Regions from separate parts of the Homo sapiens genome. Here all the other regions are linked to region 1. The links are contacts of gene promoters, found by promoter capture Hi-C in human tissues and cell types (Jung and others, 2019). All regions are on one chromosome and are shown on one strand. Each heading gives the region's core, a stretch centred on a gene start or on the middle of the fragment in contact. The rest is flanking DNA. Distances are from core to core; before and after follow the strand shown.

Region 1 (2,879 bases), core at 154-2,653:
CAGGACTGTATCCTGGTGTCTGGTCTTAATCACTACCATATTTTCATTGAGTAGCAGAGGCTCCCACCTGTGAGAGGCAATTAGTAAGTGCTGAACTGGACACATGGAATCTGGACGAGGTTGGAATTATCACAGGAGAAAAATGAGGATGTGTGTGCAAAATGGTGTGGACAGAATAAAAGCCTGCAGGCAGGAGGCAGAGACAGCCTCCCCGGTTAGATTGCTAACCTCTGAGAACGGGAACTGTGCCTTATTCATCTCTGCGCAGTAAAGTTTTTTTAAATGAATGGGATGAATGAGTACAGATCAGTCAATGTGTCAGGTCTAACCTGAACTACAAAATTCATATTTAGGAGCATGGTAAGTAAGACGTTATCCAGGACTGTTGAGCTAGGTACAGAGACCACTGCCAAGGGGGCTTGCAGTGGGGAGAGAGGTCAGGCTCAACTCCCAATACAGCAAGGGCAAGTGGGTGGGGTCAGTGAATGGAAAATTAATAGGAGAAAACATCAGGGATGTGGGCGGTTCTGGCTAAACCGACCTGACAGGGTTCTTGCTGAAGAGAGGCTGGAGATATCAGACAGCACCTGGGGGACGAGGAACCTGACCAGACGTCCAGGGTGATCTGATATTGAGGCTGGGAGTTCTTGCTAAACTCACTTATCAAGGCTCTTCGCTAAAACTGGATTTTACAAGGAAGTGTACAGATGATGTAGAAGGTTCAGGAGCCTGCTTAAGTTTGGCCAAGCAAAGACTCTTTGTCACACCCCACAGAAAATGAGTCTGCCTGGCATCACCTGCACCAAGGGCGGCTTCCCTCCCCTCTGGGTGCCCCGCAAACCTAGGCTTCGCAGGAACAGTGACTCTCTGATCTGCGTGTGAATTAGAAAGACCTAGGCTTGTTAAAGCCAAGTTCTTTGGAGAGCCTCCGTTCTACAGCAGTGCAGTGCAAAAGAAATATCACAGCAGCCATGTAGGCAATTTAAAATTCTATCTTAAAAAGGTTAAAAGAAACAGGTGAAATTAATTTTAATGACATATTTTTCTTAACTCAATAGATACAAAATATTATTTCAACATGTAATCAATATGAAAACATTATCGAGATGCCTTACATTCCTTTTTCCCGTTACTTCTTTGGGATCCAGCGTGTATTTTACCTTTAGAACCCATGAGGTCCCACGTGGTGAGTGCCCCGGGTGGGAACCGCCTGCAGCTCGGGGAGGAACGAAGCTACCAGAGAACTACAGCTCCCGGCATGCTCCGGGCGCGCCCCGTGACGCACTTCCTTTGCGGTGGCCACAGCGCGCCCCCGGCGGCGGGAGCGAGGCGCCTGTCCGAGAACCACATCTCCCGGCATGCGCCAGACGCGCCCGTGACGCACTTCCGGTGCGGCCGCGACGGCGCGCCCCCGGCGGCTGCTGCGGCGGCGGGAGCGAGGCGACCGCTGAGGCCGCGGAGAGTGACGGCGGCCCGGCCGACGGGAGCCGGGGCGGGGCGGCGGCCCAGCGAAGGAGCGCGCGGGCGGTCTGGCCCCGCCCCCTCCCCGCCCGCCTTCCCGGTGACCTTCAGGGGCCCGGGTGGCGGGCGCAGGCCCCTGCGGCGGCGGCGGGATGTTCGTGCAGGAGGAGAAGATCTTCGCGGGCAAGGTGCTGCGGCTGCACATCTGCGCGTCCGACGGCGCCGAGTGGCTGGAGGAGGCCACCGAGGACACCTCGGTGGAGAAGCTCAAGGAGCGCTGCCTCAAGCACGTAAGGCCGGGCCCCCTCCCCTGCCCCCAACACCCGCTCCGGACCCCTCCGACTGCGGACCCCGCCTCAGTCCCCGAACCGCCCCGACCTGGGGTCCGCCGCCCAGTCCGCAGCTCCCAGGCCCTCTCCTCCGGGGGTGGAGGCAGCGCCTCCTGCCCGTTTGCCCGACTCTCCCCCTTTCGGATCCCACACCTCTGGACGCTCGTCCCGGGCCTGGCCTTTCGGCCGGCGGACTCCGGTCACTAAGCGCTCGCCCCGTGCCAGCCGCCCGGCCGAGCCCTGTACACGCCAGCCTCTCAGTTAACTCTGCAGCCACGCAGGGAGGTAGGGGCAGATCGGGAAACTGAGGCCTGGAGAGTGAAGTCGCCGACGGAGCAGGGCCTCGGGACTTTCCGGCAGTTGTACCTTTTTGCTGTTGGGGTGAGGTTTTTTTTCAGCAGCATCTTTGAGAGCTGAGAATTAACGTAGGCTCCTTCATGAAGAGGCCCCTTCTCCTTCCTCTTCCCCTTTCCCGCAGAGCCGGCTGCTTGGAGCTCTTTTCCTGGCTGGCCCCAGGCCACTGTGCCTTTTAGCTGGAGTCCCTGAAATAGTGCCGCTGCGGGACAAGGCCCTGCGCCCCTGCTTTTCTGCAGAGGTAAAATTGGTCAAGAGAGAAGTCCCAGGAGTAGGGTCTCCTCGCGGAGACACTTTTTAAAGTTTATTCACCTGAAATACTCCTGTGTATTTAGTTCCTTAGGTTGCTGATTTTTGGAACTAGTTCTCGAGTCTCTAAAGGACTCAGTAAGGTCAGCTAAGAAGCCTGTCTGTGTGTCAGACTGACCTCCTGTCTATACCTGACATGATCTGAGGGCTTGGCAGAATTTAGGTTGAAGGAGGCTGCAATTTTCTAGTGGCGACTCCATGTGATAAGTTACGACGTATCTGTGTTGACAGGTTGAGTGCGTTACACTTGAGCTGAGTGTGGTCTCTAAGGATAAACTTCAGTTCTTACCATAGTAGCTGCTCGCATACAGTACTTTCGAGTTGCTTTTGTGAGCATGGTTCTGTGGAGTTCTGGAACTGTCAGAGGCAAGCTTGGCAAGCCCCCTTCTGGAACGCACTGGCTGTGAATAACTGGGAGGTGCTGGC
Region 2 (2,879 bases), core at 148-2,647, 480 kb after region 1:
GGCTTTGTCAAATTGCTGCCTCAGGATACGGTCTTGAGGGTGGCTGTGGGGACACCCAGCACCTGCACCCCAAGGCCACACGGTGTCAGATTTTAGGAAGCGGTGGAGAACACTCGGGTACCTTCTCGGTCCAGACATCAACCTTCTGGAGAGAACCAAAGCACCCACACTGGGCCCTCGCCATCCTAACAGTCTGCCCACCTGTGAGAAACGCCCCCAAATACTCTACATTTCTCGGTTGGCCGAAAAGCAGCTCAGCCAGCGGTCTTACCTCCCAGGTGGGGTTTCCCCCCAGGGTAGGGAGGCCAGGGTCTGCAGGCCAGGGAGAGGAGCCCCGGTGCAGGAGCGGGCGGGGCAGCAGGAGGACCCGCTCCAGCCACCCAGAAGTGGGCGTGGGCTAGAATTCAGCTCCCAGCCTTCCAGAAGCTGCAATTTTACAACCTCACTACAAGCGTCCCCCAGCAAAGCTGCACCGCCATTTCCTGTGCTTGGGAACTGAAGGCAAGGTGAGCCCCTCCCGGCTGCCCCGGCCCGACCTCCCCTGACTCCCAAGCTTGGGCTACTCACGGCCTGCGGGCTGGGCAGGGTCCCCCAAGGGAGCTCCCCTCCCCGAGGGCGCGCTCACCCTAGCCGCTGGGATCGGCGACCTGGTCCTCGGCCCGGCGGGAGTGAACGCCTCCCAGGGAAGAGGCCGGGCCTCCAAGCAGGTCTGCACCCCCGGAGTTATGTTTCTGGGATCCGAGGACTAGCGAGCTTGGGGCCCGGGAGAGCGGCCACCCTCCCGGAAGCTCCGCCTGGCGCAGGGCGTGAACCGCAGTCTCCAGGCCGGCCGGGCCGCGGCCATTCTCGGAGGGCAGCGGCCGCCCCGGGCCGGGCCAAAGCTCCCCACCGCGGGCCCTCACCTGCGCCTCACCTGGGGCTCCAGGAGCGCGGGGCGCGCGGGCCGAGAGTCGCACGGAGGCCAGAGACAGGATCCCCGCCCGGGGAACGGAGCAGCCCCGGCGCCGATCCCCGTCCGCCTGCCTCGGGGAGCCCCCGCCGCCCGCCCGCCGCGGCCTGCACGGCGCGCCGGCCCCGGCCTGGCTGGCCCTCCTGTCCCCGACCCCCCAGCTTCCCAGCCCCCGAGCCCCCCGGCCCCGGCCCTGCACCCGCTCACCTCCGCCCGTCCCCCGCCGCCCGCCGCGCGGACCCCGCCTGCGCCCGCGTCCCACGTCCCGGGGGAGGCGGCGGGCCGGGGGCGGGCCGGAGGCTGCAGGGCCAGCGCGCTCCGCCCTCGGCCGGGGCGCGGGGAGGGGGCGCAGGGGCGTCCGGCCGGGCCCCCCGCCTCCCCGCCTCCCCGCGCGCCGCCGCTGCCGCCGCCCCGCGCCCGGGCCGCGCCGTGGGAAGCGCGGGAGGGGAGGGGCGGGGCGGGGGGCGGGGCGACCCCCCCAAGCCGCCCCCTCCCCGCGACCTACCGGACGGTGGCGGCGGCGGCCGCACTCCGGAAGCCGTGCCCGTGGCTGGGCATCATGGGAATGGCACGGCCGAGTTCCGGGGGAGGCGCGCGGCCCGGCCGGACCCCCGCCCGCGAGAGCGCGCCCACCTGCCGCCGCGCCCGCGCCCCGGGGACGCCCCCGCCCCGCCCCGCCCGGTTCGGACGCGGCCCCCTCCGCGGGGTGCGGGGCGAAGGCGCTTGGGCCGGGCCGAGCCCCGTGCTGCCCGCCTCCCGTACCGCGGCCACCTCCGGGGGGCGCGCAGGGGGCGCGGGGTCGCCGGGAAGTTCTGGGCGCGGGGGGCGTGGCCGTGGGAAAGCGCTCGGAGCCGCGGGAAGGGAGCGTGCGGGGCCCCGGCGCCAACCGAGTTCCTCCCCGAAGTTCACGCGGGGCTCCGGGCTGAGACCGGCCCGCCCGCCCCTCCAGCCCCACAGCCTTGGGCCGGGGTCGGGGGCGGCCCCCGCGTGTCCCCGCGGCTGCCCCACCCGAGCTTGCGGCGGGGAGTGGACGCACGACCTGCCCGGGGCGGCGGCTCCTCGAGCACACCTGCCGCCAGGTTCGGGGGAGGGAACAGTTTCTAGGAACTGCCCCGGACCTTGAGGCCGCTGCTGTTTCTGCTTCTGCTGTGCACTGACCATGTGACCTTGAAAGTCTTCCCAGTTTTGTTTTATAAAAGGTCCAGGGTGTGTGCCCGAGGCTGGCGGTGGCCCGGGTGTGCTCAGCATCCCCGGGCGGCGGGGAACGGGCAGACCCGACTGGATCCTCCCTCAGCGCCCACTCGTGGAAGGGGCAGATGGTGCGCAGGGGCACCGCGCTGCTTCTGTAAGCCCCCTGGGCCCTGATCCACACGTGTCTGGGAGATGAATTTGTGGGTTCGGTTCCTGTCTAGAAAGTGTCAGAGATTTGATAGGATCAAAATCAGAGACTTGCCTTGGAGGGGTGCTTCTAGTCATGCCAGCCTGGGAAGCTGGAGGGCCAGTTTTGGGTCAGGAAACCCATTAAAGAATTGTTTTAATGCCTTCGTGAATTTTTTCAAAAAGCAATTTTTTTTTTCTCATGAAATAATACTCTTTCATTACCAAACTTTGGGGAGATGATCTAATTAATAAGGTGACTTCCCAGAGACATGGGCTGTTAAGGTTTTGGCATGCTGCTTCACAGTTTTTAAAACAGTGCTGTGGTGAACAGCTTTCATGATGCCTCCTTAGAGCGGCTCTGAGCATTTCCTGCGGGCAAATCCCTAGAAGAGGCCGGCGGGCCAAAGACTATGCTGCATTTTGCCAAAATGCCCTCCAGAAATGCGGGGCCAGCCTGCCGTCCACCCACTGGTGAGCGGGCATGCCCGCTTGCCTGTCCTCTTGCCAGCCCTGAGATATGTCATTGCGTTATGTCTTTGGCAGTCTGATA
Region 3 (2,879 bases), core at 269-2,768, 460 kb after region 1:
GCCCTATCAAGGGCTGTGAGCGCCACACCAAGGCACACAAGAGCGTCCGCCAAGCTGAGGAATAAACTCCTGCTTCTCTGTGGGGCTCTGTATTCCCATGTGGAGGAGGATGGGGCTGTAATCACCTAAAACTGACATAGGCCAGTTCAAAAGTGGCCCTAGAACCAGAGCAGGTCCCAGGTTCCTCCTGGGAACCGCCCCGGGCTCAGATGGGGGTGTCACCTACCTGTGCCGACAGCCAGCTTTGTGTCCCAGATGGACTCGGGCATCGAAGAGGCTTCTCACGGAAAACAGTTCCTTGACATTGAAGAAGTCAGAGTGCTTGAGGGGCTCATTCAAAATCTTGTCGTTGAAATCTACGGCAGGGAGGAGGAGCGACGCTGCGTCTCCCACCGGTGGCAGCAGAGACAGGCAGAGCGCAGTTCCCGCCCACCCCTGCTCCCAAGTGCCTTCTGTGACACCGAGGTGGGGAGCCGGGAGCCCAGCAGCCCCAGGAAAGACCTGGAAGCACAGGGACCTTTTCAGGAAACAGAGGGCTGGAGCCAGGTTCTGATCCCGACCTTGCTCCTGGGTAAGCCTGGTCGAACCTGGTCAACCCCGTCCCTTGGTCTTACTTGGAAGACAGAGGAGAAAAAGAGAGGGGCCCAGCGGGTTGCTCAGGTCTTTCTGGCACCTCCCCGCCTTGTGGTCTCAGGTGGCCAGCCAGAAAGTCCCCATCAGGAGTCCAGCAAGGTGGGCAGACTCCAAGCCCAGTGCCCCCAGGTCACTTGGGCCCGCCTGGGCGAGCTCGGGGCTCCGGGCCTCGGTGGTCCAGTGACACCCCCCTAGGGAGCGAAGCCTGTGCTAACCACTGGCCCGCCCGCTCCCTCTCACCCTATCCATGGTGAGGCGGTGGCCTCAGCCCGCTGTGCTACGTCAGGCAGGACCGAGCGGCGGCGAGCACGGGAGTGGGAGGAGCCCAGCGGAGCGCGCAGTTTCGACCGCGTGCAGCGCCCAGGCCCCTCTAGGGTTCGCATCCCCCGCGGCTGCCGGCCTCTCCTCGTTCCCACCCAACTCGGCTGGGCGCCCAGTGTTACCGGTGCTGTCCTCCGACTCGCGGATCATAAGGGCCGTCGCGCTTCCAAGCGTCCTGCGGCTCGGCCGAGCAGGCCGGGGGGTCGCCTTCCCGAGAAAGCCCAACCAGCGCGACGGGGCCCGGGCACCTGGGGGGAAGTAGATAGAGGTCCTGGCGCCGAGTCCCGAATGCACCACGCCCGCTCCCCACCGCATCCCCAACGGGCCCCTCCGCGTCCCTAACGGGTCCCCTCCGCGTCCCCGCGCCCTCCCCGAGTCCCCTCCGCGCTCGCCCCGGGTCCCCTCCACGTCCCCGCCGCTCCATCGGGTCCCCGCGCCCCTCCGCATCCTCCTCGCATGCTCCTCCCCAGGGTCCCGCAAGCGCGCGCTCACCCGCGCCGAGTATTCGGGGCAGCGCGGCCGAGGATGTCGCCATGGCTGGGACGCGGGGCAGAGCGAGGTCTCCCTCCAGGCCAGGCCGAGCGGCCTCCCCTTCCGTCGCCATCCGCGCGGGGCCGCAGTGCCGCCTACAGGCCCGGAGGAGCCACAGCGCTGTCCCCAGGCGGCTGGGACCTCCCTGCGGGGGCGGGGCACGCGAGGGGTCAGGGCCCGGGGTCCTGGGCTTGAGAGTCTCGGGCGGGGAGTGGAGCCACGGTCCTCGCCCTGCAGCTCGCCCCGCCCTGCTAATGGGACCGGCCAGCCCGGGAGGCCCCTGACCCTTGGGGAAGCCCGCTGGGCGATGGGGACCCTCGCCTCCCGCCAAGTGAGCTGTGAACCACGTCCTGCGCAACCTCTCGCTCTCCAAAACTGTTTGTAATATTTAAACGATATTTGGCTTAGGAGAATTTCATAAAGTTAGCCAGATCTCGGGTCTCAATTTAGACTCGGGGTGCTGGGGGGCATAGCATCCCTGGAGTACATTGGACAGCAAAAGTCCAATCGTTGCCTGCCGAGTGGACCTGCAGTGCTTAAACCCCGTCACCCGGCTGGCGGGGTCCCAGGCCCTGGGGTTTCTTTCGCCCGGGAGTCCACGCCCTGATGCTGGGGTGGCCCGGTCCCCCCGCGGGTGGCTGGGGGCCTGGGGCTGCCTCACACGACGGTCCCAGCAGGGAATCTCTCGCCGTCCCGACCTTCCCGGCCCTTGGGGAGTCGCCCGGCAGGTTCCGGACCCACCCGCAGAGGAACCCGGCCCACGCGCGGCGCCTTTAAGGCCCCTCCGCTCGCTCCCCAGTCACGTGACCTGGCCGTCGCTTGGCAACAGGACGCCGCCGAGTCCCGCTTCTCCTCCAGGCACAATGGCTGAGGAATGCCCCAGAGCGTGCGCGGAGCCTGTGGCGCCCAAGGCCACGGCCCCGCCGGAGAGGACCAGCGACTACTACCGCGTGAGCGCGGACCTGCCGGGCAGGTTCAACAACCCGGGGTGGTTCCGGGGCTACAGGTGAGGAAGCTGGGGCCCGCCTGGTCCTGGCGTCCACTGCTCGATAGCCCCGTGTGTGAGAGACCCCGCAAGACCCCCAAGGTCCTAGCTACAGAAATCAAGAAGATCGAGTGGTCATCCGGGGCCCGCGCTGTCATCGCCCGCCAGTGAGCGGCGACCGTGCTCCCTAGAGCCTCATACAAGGAAGTGGGGATAAGGGCAGTGGGGGGCAGGGCCGTGGGGGGAGAAAGCCCAGTTGTGGTCTCAGCTCCACTGATTTGTGTCGGGTGAGTCTCCTCTCCTCTCTACCCTGAAACTCCGCTGCGGGGCGTGAGCACAGCAGCACCTCCACTGTCTTGCTGTAGACTCAGCCAGCTCTGAGCTGCCACAGGGCATTGCAGGCTAAGAA
Region 4 (2,879 bases), core at 344-2,843, 460 kb before region 1:
ACACCGGGATCCCAAAGTAATCCCAGCACTTTGGGAGGCCAAGGCAGGTGGATCACCTGAGGTCAGCAGTTCAAGACCGGTCTGGCCAACGTGGTGAAACCCTGTCTCTACTAAAAATACAAAAATTAGCCATGGGGCTGCGTGCAATGGCTCACACCTGTAATCCCAGCACTTTGGGAGGCCGAGATGGGCAGATGACTTGAGGTCAGGAGTTCAAGACCAGCCTGGCCAACATGGTGAAACCCCATCTCTACTAAAAATACAAAAAATTAGCCAGGTGTGGTGGTGGGTGCCTGTAATCCCAGCTACTCAGGAGGCTGAGGTAGGAGAATCACCTGAACCCGGGAGGCGGAGGTTGCAATGAGTTGAGATCATGCCACCGCACTCCAGCCTGGGCAACAGAGCAGGACTCCGTCTCAAAAAAAAAAAAAAAAAACAGAAAACAAAAAACAAAAAAATTAGCTAGGGTGGTGACACATGCCTGTAATCCCAGCTACTCAGGAGGCTAAGGTAGGAGAATCACCTGAACCCGGGAGGTGGAAGGATGCAGTGAGCTGAGATCATGCCACTGCACTCCAGCCTGAGCAAGACTCTGTCTAAAAAAAAAAAAAAGTGTGTGTATAAAACTTGCTTATTTGTACCACTTCTGGTCCAGGAAGTAACGAGGTTCCCAAATGTGTAAAGCATCAAAAACTAAGCTTAAAAAATTAGTAAACAGGGACGCATGGTGGCTCACACCTGTAATTGTAATCCCAGCACCTTGGGAGGCCAAGGCAACGGATCACTTGAGGTCAGGAGTTTAAGACCACCCTGGCCAACATGGCGAAACCCCGTCTCTACTAAAAATACAAAAATTAGCCAGGCATGGTGGCGCATGCCTGTAATCCCAGCTACTTGGGAGGCTGAAGCAGGAGAATCGCTTGAACCCGGGAGGTGGAGGTTGCAGTGAGCCGAATTTGAGCTACTGCACTCCAGCCTGGGTGAGACAGTGAGACTCCATCTTAAAAAGAACAAAAAAAAATTGGTAAACAAATACAGTTTCAAACATAGAATGGAGCCAGGGAAAGGCTCGAGACACCCCACGCTGCAGCCCACCTGTGCGAGCTGCTTCACCCCAGTCACCTCACAGAGGCGGCTGAGAAGGACACAAAAACTCCTGCAGCGTTTCGCCAGCAAAGCTGAGAGAGTCACATGGTCAGTCCCACGACTCACCCAGTGGCTCAGAGAAAGAAGTAGTGGACCGAGCACTGGGGGAGGGCGGTGGTCTGTTTTTCTGTTTTCGGGGTTTGGACCAGGGAAGAACAGCCTCAGCGGGCTCCCAGGTGGAGCAGCTCAGCCCCAGGCTGTGCCTCCTTGGCCGCCCTGCCCTGCCCTGCCCTGCCGGGACCTTGGCCCTGAGGCTCAGGGACCAGGCCCACAGGTGGCCACTCCTACAACGTGGCTGTCTCCTGTCAGACACCACAGGTACGCCTGGAAATGGCGCCACACTGCACTTACCGTGTCCACGGTTCCGCCCATTAAAATAAACTCCTTTGTGATGATTTCTACCATTTCTCGAACCTGCGAAGAAGGGCAAGACGATAACAGTGTGGCCTGCGCCTGCCGGCCTACTGACCCGTCTAGGCAGGGACGCCCAGGTCTGGACAGGCAACCGCACTGAGGACGGTGGCAGGCGGGGCCCTCACCTGTCTTGGGTCGGCGCTGGCATGGATGCAAAGGAGGCCAGTGTCCTCGTAGCTGTGGTGGTAGGAGGTCGCGTTATACATCCAGTGGTGCCTGGGAGGAAGCGAGAGTCATGGGAGTGAAGGGGACTCGCCAGGATCAGGCCATGGGAAACTGGAGAAAAGTCACCTGGAAGGTGGCCTCATGGTCCAAAAACACACCTGGCCTGGCCTGGTGGCCTGAGGATACAGAAAAGAGTGCAACCCACCTGTTGAGCACGTTGAGGTAGAGCCTGGAGAACATGCCCTTGCCGGGCCCACCAGCCGAGAAGGAGCCACCTCCGCCCATCATCATGTTCAACACTGCAAAGGGGATGAAGTCCTCCTCCTGCAGGGACGGAGGGCAGAGCTGGCTGAACCACCCACGCCACGTCAGGAGCACCGTCAGACGCCAGGGACGGAGGGCAGAGCTGGCTGAGTCGCCCAAGCCACGTCAGGAGCGCCGCTGGACGCCAGGGACGGAGGGCAGAGCTGGCTGAGCCACCCATGCCGCGTCAGGAGCGCCGTCGGATGCCAGGGACAAAGGGCAGAGCTAGCTGAGCCACCCACGCTGTGTCACGAGCGCCGTCAGACGCCAGGGACAGAGGGCAGAGCTGGCTGAGTCGCCCACACTGCATCAGGAGCATTGCTGGATGCCAGGGACAGAGGGCAGAGCTGGCTGAGCCGCCCACGCCCCATCAGGAGCGCTGTCGGATGCCAGGGACAGAGGGCAGGGCTGGCTGAGCCGGCCACACTGCATCAGGAACGCCATCAGACCCAGCACCAGGACTCACCAGGAAGGAGCAGCTCTCCAGTCCAACCATGATGTGCGTGAGCTCGGGGATGGGGGTCGGGCCCAGGCTGACATTGGACATGTCTCTTTCTAGCTGTAACCAAGAAAACAAGCAAGTGTCGCCATGTGAAAAACAATGAGGGCTCGCAAACCCCAGATGAGATCATCTTCAGAGTGGTTACACAGAAATCCAATGCCAGCCAGGCACAGTGGCTCATGCCTAAAATCCCAGCACTTTGGGAGGCCAAGGTGGGCAGATCACTTGAGTCCAGGAGTTCAAGACCAGCCTAGGCAATGTGGCAAAACTCCACCTCTACCAAAAAGACAAAAAAAAAAAAACATATGTATATACATATAAGCTGGGCGTGGTGGCTTACGCCTGTAAT
Region 5 (2,879 bases), core at 134-2,633, 440 kb before region 1:
CCCTATGCGCCTCCTGCTCCTGCTGGTTGGTGAAAGCAGGCTCTGGATTCTGTTGGCAGAGCTGACTTGAGACAGGGTGCTGTGGTTGGGAAGTGCCGGAATGAGGTTCTGAGTGTATAGGCAGCTCTGGGAGCCCTGTAGCAGCAGGATGGGGGCATCTGGGGAGGATGCCTCAGGCCACAGGCCTTCCCTGAGGCCCTTTGGGAGAGACAGCATTTGATGGGGTGGGGGTCACAAAGGCCAGATCGCCAGGCGGGTCCCATCCACCAGATGCGTGTGAAGTGGGGTGGTCCCCTGGCCCTCATGCCAGCAGCTCATGGAGCAGGTGGGGCCCAGGGAAGCGCGGTGGGGATGGGCATGTGGGTTTTGCGCACCCCTCTCTTTTGATGTCTGTGTTTGAAGCGTTTGATAGTAAGAAGTTTAAAAATACAATTTGTGGCGCGGTATTTAGTGCCTGCCTTCTGCCTCCAGATTTCAAGCCCGATGCAGGGACTGAAACGAGGCGCTCGAGGAGCCCCCAGCCGCCTGGTTCCATCCCCTCCATCTGTTTCTTGCCAATCCCTAGCTCCCAGTTTGGCCTCACCTGGGCCTAGCCCTTTGCCACCAAAAGCCCACCTCCTAGGTAGGCAGGGCAAACCCTCTTTATAGTTCTCCAGCTGATGCCCCTAGCTCACCCCAGGCTGGAGTGGAGGCCCCCTCAACTGGCTGGGCCCAGGATGTCTTTGCAGCACCGATACTTAGAAGCTCTCAGGAGCCAGGAACTGTAGGCCCCTGCCCAGCTCCCGGCCGAGTTAGCCCTGGCACGTTCCTGAAGGAATGAATGCCCACTTAGGGGAGGGCCCCGGGGCAGCTCTCCAGGCCAGGAGACCCCAGAGGGTGTGCACAGGTGACCAGGGAAGCGAGTTTGTGTGGTGCGGGCCCCCACCCTCTGGCCTCAGTCTCCTGCACGTGCCTGGAGATCGGCCTGGCCTCGGCGATCCTGAGCATGCAGGGCAGGCTGGGGAAAAAGCCTTTCACGTAGACTTTCTCATCCGTTGCTTAACCAAACCCCAACATGTCCGTTAACAGAGGATGAAACAAGCACAGAGAGGTCCAGCGATGGCCGAAGGTCACAGCCAGTAAGGGCCGGTCTTCCGGATCGTGACCAGGTGGCCGGGTGCCTGTCCCTGTCTGTCCCCTGCCTTGAGGTCCCGCGTCCACCCGCGCCCCTCCAGAGCGCGCGGAGGCGGCCCCCAGGGCGGCCGCGCGAGGGCAGCATCGAGCCGTTCGCCTCTCTAGTCCCGGCAGGCCGCAGCGGCCGTCCCGGCGTGCCCCGCGCCTCAGGAGGCGGGACTTCCGGCGCGCGGCGCTCTTGTTCTGCAGCCGCCGGAAGCGTCGAGTCTGCAGTCGCCCGGGCGACGGCGGGGTCCGCGCGGCCAGGTAAGGTGTGCGCCCAGCAGGTGAGGCGCGGGTGGCGTCGGCAGCTTCAGGGCTCTCCCCGTGGAGGGGGCGCTGTCCCGAGGAGCGGATAGCCGAGGCCCGGGACGGGGGCGGGGCAGCGCCCAAAGTCGGGGAAACTGAGGCCCGGCGTGGCCCCCGTCCGGCCGAGCCTGGGCGCGCGGGGATTCTGGCCCTGGGAGCCCCTCGGCTGGGAGCGGGCTGCGGGCTCCGAGGAGGCTCCGGCGGGGCGGCCCCGGCTGCAGGGCGCCCGCGTGCGTCTCGGGGACTGCGCCGGCGATTCCGCGGTGGCCGAGCCTCGGAGGGGGTTTCCCCAGTTCACGCAGCGAGCAGGAGGCGGAACTGGGCCTGGGCCGGGTCTGTCTCCCAAGCCAGTGCCTAAACGCCCATCGTCCTGGCGCATCCTGGGGTTCCCTGGGCCCAGCCGAGTCTGGGTGGCGTCCCCGCAGCTGGGGCTGGAGGGACCGCCTGCTGCGCTCCGTCTTGGTGGGCAGCCCTCATGACCAGCCCTTGGGAGAGGGGTGCGGGGAGAGGGACAGCCCCTGATGTCAGTGGCTCAGCACGTGTGACTTTGACCTCCTTCCTGCTGATCATTGCTCACCTGAGCGACACGGGGAGGGGGAGGCAGCAGCCTCGTGTGAGGCTTCCAGAGGAAAGCGTCTCCGCCGGCCCGGAGGCGCTGAACCAGCCTGCGGTCGCTGCCAGCTCTGCCTCTGGCCGGCTGTTAACTGAGTTTACAGGTTCACAAGCATTTCGGGCATAAACAAGGGGCTTTGTGAAGGAGTGAGGGGACCTGGGCTGCTGATGCGGCTAACGGTGCTCGCGGGTGGATGCTTTGGTTTTGTTCCAGTTGGGCAGGGCCCCAGTCAGCCTCCAGCAGGGAGAGCCACGCCAAGGACGGGGGAGGGCGTTTCTCTTTGTTGTTGGGTGTTTTGGGCTCCCGGGTCTGTGCTAGTGATTCCTTTAGATTTTCTCTGCTAATGTTTCATTCTCCCACTCTCTCTCTAGCGTCCTTCTCCCTTCAGACTTCCTGGACCACAGTTCCTAAGAAAAAAGCTTGACAAACATTTGTTAGTGTCAGGCACTGCCACGTTCCAGGCGTTGTTCTGGATGTACAGAGAACAGCCAGCCTTCCCTTTGGGAGCTTCCTTCCCAACCATGCTGTTAGTGCCTGCCACCTGGGCAGTCTCAGTGTGTGTCTCTGTGAACGTTTCTCAAATGCCCTCTGTGGTCCGGCTCTGTGTCATGGGAGAGCAGGATGGCCAAAGTGGGTCACGGGCTGTGTCCTTGCCCTGTAGTGACTTTGCCACTGCACCCCACACCTTCTACGCTGGGTGGCCAGTTTCCATGTGGCTTGGTGTGGGAGCAGAGACGGGACAGTGGGGCCTGTCCTTGTTCATCCACTCCCTGCCTGTGCTGGTTGCAGCCTCAGAGCAGGCGGG

The links. The method cuts DNA at HindIII sites, captures the fragments that hold promoters and counts their contacts. A contact is called where the count stands out against the background at its distance.
Region 2: a contact is called between the fragment with the promoter of PPP1R26 here and the fragment with the promoter of UBAC1 in region 1, in 1 of the 25 tissues and cell types used here (H1 embryonic stem cells).
Region 3: the fragment with the promoter of MRPS2 here is called in contact with the fragment with the promoter of UBAC1 in region 1 in 1 of the 25 tissues and cell types used here (dorsolateral prefrontal cortex).
Region 4: a contact is called between a fragment that was not itself captured here and the fragment with the promoter of UBAC1 in region 1, in 1 of the 25 tissues and cell types used here (hippocampus).
Region 5: a contact is called between the fragment with the promoter of SNAPC4 here and the fragment with the promoter of UBAC1 in region 1, in 2 of the 25 tissues and cell types used here (dorsolateral prefrontal cortex and lymphoblastoid cells).

The regions. Positions count from the first base shown.
Region 1 is chr9:135,959,897-135,962,775 of GRCh38, reverse strand. UBAC1 (UBA domain containing 1) reads left to right here and starts at 1,403. Exons shown (of 10, transcript NM_016172.3): 1 at 1,403-1,751. The coding sequence starts at 1,614. RefSeq lists silencers at 1,254-1,663, 1,674-1,793 and an enhancer at 1,283-1,783. The HindIII fragment of the contact is 18,279 bases long and covers 1-2,879 here.
Region 2 is chr9:135,478,300-135,481,178 of GRCh38, reverse strand. It overlaps PPP1R26 (protein phosphatase 1 regulatory subunit 26), which reads right to left and starts at 1,397. Exons shown (of 4, transcript NM_014811.5): 1 at 1,157-1,397. RefSeq lists silencers at 756-805, 816-875. The HindIII fragment of the contact is 17,940 bases long and covers 1-2,879 here.
Region 3 is chr9:135,499,321-135,502,199 of GRCh38, reverse strand. MRPS2 (mitochondrial ribosomal protein S2) reads right to left here and starts at 1,518. Exons shown (of 4, transcript NM_016034.5): 1 at 1,447-1,518; 2 at 1,077-1,202; 3 at 227-356. The coding sequence starts at 1,489. It overlaps PIERCE1 (piercer of microtubule wall 1), which reads left to right and starts at 2,331. Exons shown (of 3, transcript NM_001048265.2): 1 at 2,331-2,491. The coding sequence starts at 2,349. RefSeq lists an enhancer at 669-1,293 and silencers at 1,249-1,408, 1,619-1,788, 2,059-2,228. The HindIII fragment of the contact is 18,925 bases long and covers 1-2,879 here.
Region 4 is chr9:136,417,725-136,420,603 of GRCh38, reverse strand. PMPCA (peptidase, mitochondrial processing subunit alpha) reads right to left here. Exons shown (of 13, transcript NM_015160.3): 8 at 2,495-2,587; 9 at 1,931-2,049; 10 at 1,686-1,776; 11 at 1,498-1,560. Among named protein-coding and RNA genes, the nearest start is that of PMPCA, 8.5 kb to the right of the region's middle. The HindIII fragment of the contact is 6,608 bases long and covers 1-2,879 here.
Region 5 is chr9:136,398,674-136,401,552 of GRCh38, reverse strand. It overlaps SNAPC4 (small nuclear RNA activating complex polypeptide 4), which reads left to right and starts at 1,383. Exons shown (of 24, transcript NM_003086.4): 1 at 1,383-1,419. RefSeq lists silencers at 936-985, 1,136-1,345, 1,416-1,545, 1,616-1,725 and an enhancer at 234-1,170. The HindIII fragment of the contact is 18,374 bases long and covers 1-2,879 here.